3 separate regions of the Homo sapiens genome follow, and regions 1 and 2 are each linked to region 3. The links are contacts of gene promoters, found by promoter capture Hi-C in human tissues and cell types (Jung and others, 2019). All regions are on one chromosome and are shown on one strand. The core of a region is centred on a gene start or on the middle of the fragment in contact, and the rest is flanking DNA. Distances in the headings are between cores, read along the strand shown.

Region 1 (2,700 bases), core at 138-2,637, 590 kb before region 3:
ACAGCAAGAGGATCTCTTGAGCCCAGGAGTTCGAGAACAAGTTGGGCATCATTGCAAGACCCCATCTCTGGAAAAAAAAATTGCTAGGTGCTGTGGCATGCACCTGTGGTCCCAACTACTTGGGAAGCTGAGGTGGCAGGATCACTTGAGCCCAGAGGTCAAGGACGCAGGGAGTTGTGATTGTACCACTGCACTCCAGCCTGGGTGACAGAGCAAGACCCTGTCTCTCTCTCCCTTTTTATTTTTTTTTGAGACAGAATCTCACTGCGTCGCCCAGGCTGGAGTGCAGTGGCATAATCTCGGCTCACTGCAACTTCCACCTCCCGGGTTCAAGCAATTCCTGTGCCTCAGCCTCCCGAGTAGCTGAGATTGCAGGCGCCCACCATCAGGCCTGGCTAATTTTTGTATTTTTAGTAGAGACGAGGTTTCACCATGTTGGCCAGGCTCGTCTCAAACCCCTGACCTCAAATGAGCCACCCATCTCGGCTTCCCAAAATGCAGGGATTACAGGCATGAGCCACCATGCTTGGCCAAGACCCTGTCTCTTTAAAAAAAAAAAGAAAGAAAAACAAAAAAAAAAAAAAGGAAAAAAGTACAACTATGGCAGGGCTGCAAAGGAGGCAGGAGGAGGTGGCAGAGCAGAAGGCTGAGGGATAAGAGGAGTTCACTATGCAGAGAGGGACTTGAGAGACTTCTAGGCAGCGAACACTGTGTATGAGCCCAAGAGGGAACTACAGGGCCCTGGACCATCCGGGCCCCGGTCCTCCACGGGCCTCGAGAGAAGGGGAGTTCCTGTCCCCTGACCCCAGCATCTTGCTCTGTCTCGGCCACCCCAAACCAAAGACTGCACTGGTCCCCAAGGTCAAGTCTCCCCCTGCCTCTGGTCAAGTAAGGAGTGCCACCAACTTTGAACCAGTCCCTTTCCACCTCCAGCTGCTCCAGACCCCGGATCTGGAAGGGGGCTGGCCATGCTGGGGTCTCTGGGTGGAGCTGTCTGGCCAGGACTTCCGTCTGAGATGGGATTTCTGGACAGAACAATGGAGCGCAGAAGCTCCAGCAACGTGTGCTCTGCAGGGAGCCCAGGTCAGGTTTGGAGAGGAGTTGCCCCGGATCCTGCAGAGCTTCCCCACCTGACTGCCACCCCTCCCAGCACCTACCCGCACCACTGCTCTCCGCCAGCCCCCACTTCTAGTACCTTGGCGCAAGGCAGGCTTCCTTTGAGAAACCCATTGACCCTTTCCTGCCACCTCTGAAGCTCTGCTCAAAGCATCTTTGTTTGAGGCTGGTCCGGTAAAGCCACAGCCCCGCCCCGGCCCTGTTCATTACTCCTTGGCTGAGCCTCGCGCTCTCCTGGCACTTTAAGCCCCCAGGCCCTCCCTCAACCCCAGTCAGCAGAAGGCGCCAGGCTGTGAGGGTGAGAGCAAGCCAGGGGCTGTGGGGGCTGCAGGGGCAGCCAGTGGGTGAGGATGAGGGTGAGGACGAGGAGGGGTGAAGGATGGGGGAGGGGGTGAGGATGAGGGAAGTGGTGAAGATGAGGGAGGGGAGTGAGGAGGAAGGGGGTGAGGATAGAGGAGGGGGTGAGGATGAGGGAGGGGGTGACGATGGGGGGGTGAAGGATGGAGGAGGGGTGATGAGAGAGGAGTGAGGATGAGGGAGGGGGTGAAGGATGAGGGAGGGGGTGAGGATGAGACAGGGGTGAGGATGAGGGAGGGGGTGAGGATGAGGGAGGGGAGTGAGGAGGAGGGGGCTGAGGATGGAGGAGGGGGTGAGGATAGAGGAGGGGTGAGGATGAGGGAGGGGTGAGGATGAGAGAGGGGTGAGGATGAGAGGTGAGGATGAGGGAGGGGGTGAGGATGAGGGAGGGGAGTGAGGAGGAGCAGGGGTGACGATGGAGGACGGGGTGAGGATAGAGGAGGAGGTGAGGATGAGGGAGGGGGTGAGGATGAGAGAGGGATGAGGATGAGGGAAGGGGTGAGGATAAGGGAGGGGAGTGAGGAGGAGGGGGGTGAGGATGGAGGAGGGAGTGAGGATGAGGGAGGGGGTGAGGATGAGGGAGGGGGTGAGGATGGGGGAGGGGGATGAGGGAGGGAGTGAGGATGACCGAGGGGGGTTAGGCTCCAGGGCTTCTGTCGAGACCAAGGATGCCCAAATATCTGGGTGGTGGGTGCTGCATACCTGGGCCCTGGGCAGAACGAAGGGTATACAGCCTGGGCCACCAGGATAAGTCCAGAACCCACCAGGAGCTGAGGACAGACAGAAGGACCACGGAGGGGGTGACGGGCTGGTGTGAGGATTGGTGCCCCTGGGCCAGGACTCTCCTCTCTTCTCCCTGCTGGCTCCAGACCAGAGTCCAAGCCCTAGGCAGTGCCACCCTTACCCAGCCCAGCCTTGAAGACAGAATGAGAGGGGTTTCCTGTCTCCAGGTCCTGCTCCTTCTGGTGCTGGGTGAGTGGGGACAGGGACTGGGGGTGAGGGCCGCAGACACCTTGGCTCCCAGTTCTCCCATCTCACTGCTCCCTGGGCCGGGCTCCCTGGAGCACTCTTGGGCTTTCTAATCTTGATTCCAAGGGCTCAATCCTCTCTGCCACTGACCTTGACCTCACCACACCTCGATGTGCTTGTCGGTGTCATGCTCATACGCCCTTGCCCCCTGCACCTTCACAGTGCTCTGGGGAGGGTTAAATAAGATAACAGACGGCA
Region 2 (2,776 bases), core at 196-2,695, 520 kb before region 3:
TGAATAAATCAATACATGAATGAATACGTTTGGAGTCCCCTCTTCCCACTCCTCGCCCTCCCTCCTTCCCTCCAGACCCCCAGGGGCTGCCCAGCCCGCCTCCCACCCCCGACCCGGGAACTCCAGGGACTGGACGGGGAGGGAAGGGTGGGAGGAGGCGGTGGAGGCGGAGGCGGAGACGCGGGAGGGCGGGGCTAGGGAGGGCGATGCGGGGAGCCGGAGCCCGGACCATGAGGCTGGGAGCGCCCCTTCTGCACCCCTGGCCGCCCGCGCCGCGCCCCGCGCCCACCAGAGGGCAGCACCACGACGCGCGCGGACAAGGCTGAGGCGGGAACGGCCGCACCCCCAGCCCCGCCCGGAGCCGCCCGGCCCCGCCCCGCCCGCGAGTACCGACCCCCGGCGCCGGCGGGGAAACAGGTCCGGCGCCCCCGACCCCACGGCCCGGCCCCACTCTGTCTCTGACGTCAGCGCCGTGCCCCAAATAACTTCCTCCCCGAGCCTCTTCCGCCGCGGCGCCGCGCCCAGAGCCAGGCGGGGACACCGAAACGGTAACCCCGGCCCGGCCTTCCCGGAGCCGCTTCCGCCCCGCCTGGTGCCAGGAAGCCCCCGCCCCTTCCAAGGGATGGCAGCCGGGGCCCGGGTCGGCCGCCTGGGCCGCGCTGGCGCGCGCCTGAGGAACTTCTGGGGCCTGCTGTCCCGGGAGGAGGGTCGCTGCGGCCAACTCCGGACCCCGCCCCATGTCCCATCGCCTCCCCTGCCCTCGGCCCCGCAAACACCCCTGGCCTTGACTTTCCCACCAGCGCGGCCCAGCCCCACTGTGTTCCATCGGCGCTCAATAAAATACTGAATGAGGCCGGGCGCGGTGGCTCACCCCTGTAATCCCAGCGCTTTGGGAGGCCGAGGAGGGCGGATCACGAGGTCAGGAGATCGAGACTAGCCTGGCCAACACGGTTAAACCCCGTCTCTACTAAAAATACAAAAAATTAGCCGGGCGTGGTGGCACCTGCCTGTAATCCCAGCTACTCAGGAGGCTGAGGCAGGAGAATGGCTTGAACCTGGGAGACGGAGCTTGCAGTGAGCCGAGATTGCGCTCCAGCCTGGGCGACAGAGCGAGACTCTGTCTCAAAAAATTAAAAAAAATAATAATAATAATAATGAATGAAGCTGGACGGACTTCGCGTGCACCGCGGTCAGCTCGGGGTCTGCTGGGGGGTCTGGGTCAGCTCAGGGTCCAGGAACCGAGGCCAACGGCACCCCGTGCTGCGCTGGGGTGAGGGGTCTGCCCTGGGGTCTCGGGGTTCAGGGCTAGGTCACGGAGGAGTCGGCTCTGGGCGCTTCCTTCCTGAGGAGAGGAGCTGGGCAGGCCGGGCCGACGGGTTGGGCCGCATAGCCGGGCCTGTGCTCATCTCCAGCATAAAACTCCACTTCATGGAGCCTGCACCTCGCTCGTGCTCCAACGCTTCTGCCACCGCCGACCACGGCCCTGCGCCCCAGCCAGGCCTGAGGACATGAGGCGGCCGGCGGCGGTGCCGCTCCTGCTGCTGCTGTGTTTTGGTGAGTCGTGAAGGTGCAGGGTCCTGGTGGTGCAGTCCCCCACCAGGCTCCGCTGCACTGCCTGGGGCTCCGGCTCAGCCCCCTACTCCCTGGGACAGGCTGGGGCTGTGGGACAGGCCATCATCCCTCCTGCCCCTGAGCAGGTGGGAAGGCTCCAGATGTGCCAAGTGGGGAGTCCAAAGTGGGGAGGCAGGGTGGGAGGTGTGCGCACAGGCCCCAGAGGACCCCACCGGCATAACTGGGCAGCACCTCCTCCCATGCCTCTCCGCGGGCACTGGTGTGCCAGCTCTGGCCAGGCTCCCTGCTTCCTGCCACCTCGGCCTCTCCCCCCATTCTCTAGGTGAGGACAGGGGCCTCCTACGTGCAGGATGTGAACTCAGGCTCCAAGTGCCTGGACCATCATACTCGGGGTGGGAGGGTGGCCGAGCCGAGGGCTGCTGCCTGTGCCCGGAAGCCCCAGCAGGCTGGCTGCAGGCTCAGTAGAGAGCTGGGGGCAGGGGGTGTAGGTGGCAGAGGGCCCTGTCTCCTGCTGACAGAGGAACCGGTGATGCGCCACCGTGCCCTCTCCCAGTCCTGGGTCAGGGACAGCAGGTGCCAGCCAGGGGGCCCCACCTGCCAGGCCCCTCCCTGCGGGCCGGGACACTCTCTGTCAGGGAAAACCTCTCACATTCCTGGGCTAGCCTAGCCAGTCTGGCAGCCACCACACTTCCCTGTCCTCAAGTCACCTCCCAGGGCTGGGTCAGGTCATCCCAGGCTGCAGCTTAGCCAGTACTCCAGGCTTCCTTGTTCTCCTGGGTGGGAGGGCACCAGTGGCCCCTCAGTGGCCCGGCCTCCCCCACCCCATGCCCCCAGTCTCCCAGCACAAGGATGGTGCCCTCTGAGCAAGCCATGTGCACAGGAGGTGGAAGGCTGTGACTGCCCCTGAGCGGGGTGAGGAACCAAGGTCATTGCCAAAACTCTTTGGCAATGAGTTTTGCAGTCGGTTCACTAACAGCTGTGACCAGAGGCTGGACTCCTGGACACGTCCTCACTCCCAGCCCGAGGGTGGCACTCCCACCAGGTCTCTGGCTGGTGGTACCCACTAAGCTTCACCATCCCCACCAGCTACCAGCGAATCACAGGCCCAGGCCCCAAACAATGCTCCTGACACCCCCGGCACCCCTGGCTGTTGCTTCCAGCCCCCACAGGGCGCCCACCCTGAAGGGCTCAGCTGTCCACATCC
Region 3 (2,700 bases), core at 28-2,527:
CTCAACTGGTCATTGGAAAGGGCAAGAGGAAAGGCCCTAGCATTTGGGGACCCCTCCCAGGAGTGCTGGAAGACCAAGGGCTGCTACCTGAACCTAACAGGAGACCCCACGGAGGGAACGGGAACGGCCAGCTGCCCACAGGATGCCGGGACCCCGGTGCCTGTCACCTTCCCTGTCCCTGCTGTCTGACCTCCTCTGTCCCCCTGGACCTGCTCAATGGTCTGGGGCCACACAGAGTGGGGTGCCAGGCCATGCCTCATAGAATGGGTGCGACCCTCCCCAAATTCTCCAAACGGCCTTGCCCGCTTGGGTGATGAGGGAAACGGAGCCTGAGTCGGGACTCAGACCCCCACTGATCTGCCTCTAGAATGCTGCAGGCCTGACGGGAGAGGGCCTGAGGCGCAGGGTGGCCCAAGCCTTCAGCCAGGAGCTCAGAGGGTCACAAGTCGGGGCCTCCAGCACCCAGGAAGCAGGACTCGCCTGCCTGGGCTGCAGGCTGGAGAGTGGGCAGACGTGGGCCGGGGGTCGGTTGGTGCCGGCGGGAGGTTCCAGCCCCTGTGGATGGAGATGGAGGCGACCCCCAGTCGGTGCGGGGAGTGGGGAGTTGAGCTCCCTCAGTGGGGGTGGTGGGGGCTACCTTGGGGTCAGGCTTCGGACTGAGGCTGGGGGAAGCTGTGGCGCCCGCATTATTTGCGGAGAGGAGCAGGAGGATGCTTGGGGGTTGGGGGTGCGGGTTCCCTGACACCGAATTCATTATTGGGAGATTCCTCTTCACAATCCCTCGACACCTCCCACGGGAACCCTGGGCCAGGAACGCCTGACAGCCTGGCGGGCCGGCTCCAGGGGCACTGGCGCCCGGGTCTCTCGGCGCCCGGTCCCCGCCCGCCCGCTGCCTCGGAACCGTCCCCCGCGGGTCCCGCAGCCTCTGGAAGCCTCTCTGGGCTCAGCCCCGCGCCGCCGCCGCGTCGGGGCTCCCAGTGCACCCCCGGCGGCCGCGTCCCCAGCCCGGCTAGCAGCCCCAGGCCGCCCGCGTCCGCAGAGGCCTGGCCTGAGCGCGCTGCGCGCACGTGGGGAGGGGGCGTCCCGGGGCGGGCGCGGGGAGGGCGGAGCCACGGGCCCGGGCGCGCGGCCGGCGCGGGCTGACGGAGGTCGGCGGCCCGGGAGCGGACCCCGGCGTCCGGGAGGCGGCGCCAGGTGCCGCGCCCCCGCCCCGCGCCCGCCGCGCGCCCCCGCCCCCGGGCCGCCCCCCGCCCGTGACGCGCTCCCCGCCCCCTCCGCGCCGGGAGCCCGAGCCCAAGCCGGAGCCCGAGGAGGGCGAAGGGGCGGCGGGCGGCGAGGAGGCGGCGGGGGAGGCGGCGGGGGAGGCGGCCGGTGCCGCGGGGCCGCCGCCGCCTCTGAGCCGCGCCGAGCTCACGAGCGCAGCCGCGTCGCTGCGGCCCCGGCCGCGCCATGGGGAAGGAGCAGGAGCTGGTGCAGGCGGTGAAGGCGGAGGACGTAGGGACCGCGCAGAGGCTGCTGCAGAGGCCGCGGCCCGGGAAGGCCAGTGAGTGCCGGGGGCGCGGGGCGCGGGTGGGAGCCCCGGGGGCCCCTCCCCGGCGCGGAGCCCCCCACCCGGCGCCGGGCGGGGAGGGGACGTTGTCGGGTCCCCGGGGGCGGGGCGGGGCCAGCAGCGCCCAGACCCTTGGTCCGTGCCCTCCACCCGCTGCCCCCAGCACTGGAGATGGGGCGGCCCCGAGAGCCGGCCGCCACCGTGAGCCCCGCAGCGGGCACCTGGCGGCACCCGCCTCCCGGGCCGCGGGCGTTCGCATCCCTCTCTCTCTACCTCTGTCCCCCTCCCTTCCCAGGCTGCGGGCTGACAGCTGGAGGTCTCTGCTGGGGCCTTCAAAGGGCGAGGCGGATGCCCCCCCCACCCACCACACGCACCGGGAAGACAGGGAGGGGGCCCCTGCGGCGAGGGGCGACCCGGGAGGTGACAGTCCCTAGCAGACCCCCTCCCGCCCCACGTTTAATAACACGCTTTGCAGGGAAGGTGGGGGCAGGACCACGCTGGGGGTGTGGCTGCCCTGGCATGGCCGGTGGGGTGCCATTTACTGATGGGAGAGCAGAGGCCCAAGGTCGCCCAGCCCAGGGCAGGCTGGACTCCAGGCAGGGCCGGCCTGGGCGCAAGGGCTTGGGGCCCTGCTCAGGCAGGCTCCAGCAGAGCCGGGTCTCCAGCTTCCCTGCTGGGAAAGGAGGCCATGAGGGAGTGGGGGACCACCACTGGCCATCCCCAGCTTGCCCTATGGCCGGCCCCAGGAAAGGGCTGGGAGCTTGGAGCCCTGGTCCCAGCACTCATCCTGGCTCAGCGCGTAGCCTCCCTGGGGGCCGCCGGAGATGGATGGATGGGCGTGTGGACCAGCCGCGTGTGCGGCTGCGCACGTATAGCCGTGTCAGTGTGTCAGGGCACCTGTGCGGGCACGGACAGGGCTCTGCAGGTCGGCACGTGGGGTCTGGGCGTCCTCCCTCCTCCCTCCACCCCCACAGACTGTAAGCCAGAGAGTCCCCCTCCCCTTCCTCCAGGGGGATGCCGAGAACTGGGACTGGCTTCTGGGAGATTGTTGGGGGCACCTAGGAGTCCCAGGAGGACCCCCTCCCCCGTACTTCACCAGCAGCCCATGACTGGCTAGCTCCTGTCCACTCTGTGCAGTAAGAGAGAGGGGG

The links. The method cuts DNA at HindIII sites, captures the fragments that hold promoters and counts their contacts. A contact is called where the count stands out against the background at its distance.
Region 1: a contact is called between the fragment with the promoter of PRSS33 here and the fragment with the promoter of CASKIN1 in region 3, in 1 of the 25 tissues and cell types used here (thymus).
Region 2: the fragment with the promoter of PRSS27 here is called in contact with the fragment with the promoter of CASKIN1 in region 3 in 1 of the 25 tissues and cell types used here (lymphoblastoid cells).

What each region holds. Positions count from the first base shown.
Region 1 is chr16:2,786,247-2,788,946 of GRCh38, reverse strand. It overlaps PRSS33 (serine protease 33), which reads left to right and starts at 1,387. Exons shown (of 7, transcript NM_152891.3): 1 at 1,387-1,414; 2 at 2,343-2,445. The coding sequence starts at 2,400. The HindIII fragment of the contact is 27,852 bases long and covers 1-2,700 here.
Region 2 is chr16:2,718,893-2,721,668 of GRCh38, reverse strand. It overlaps PRSS27 (serine protease 27), which reads left to right and starts at 1,445. Exons shown (of 6, transcript NM_031948.5): 1 at 1,445-1,554. The coding sequence starts at 1,509. RefSeq lists a silencer at 115-874 and an enhancer at 608-1,175. The HindIII fragment of the contact is 19,281 bases long and covers 1-2,776 here.
Region 3 is chr16:2,195,182-2,197,881 of GRCh38, reverse strand. It overlaps CASKIN1 (CASK interacting protein 1), which reads left to right and starts at 1,277. Exons shown (of 20, transcript NM_020764.4): 1 at 1,277-1,543. The coding sequence starts at 1,450. The HindIII fragment of the contact is 36,898 bases long and covers 1-2,700 here.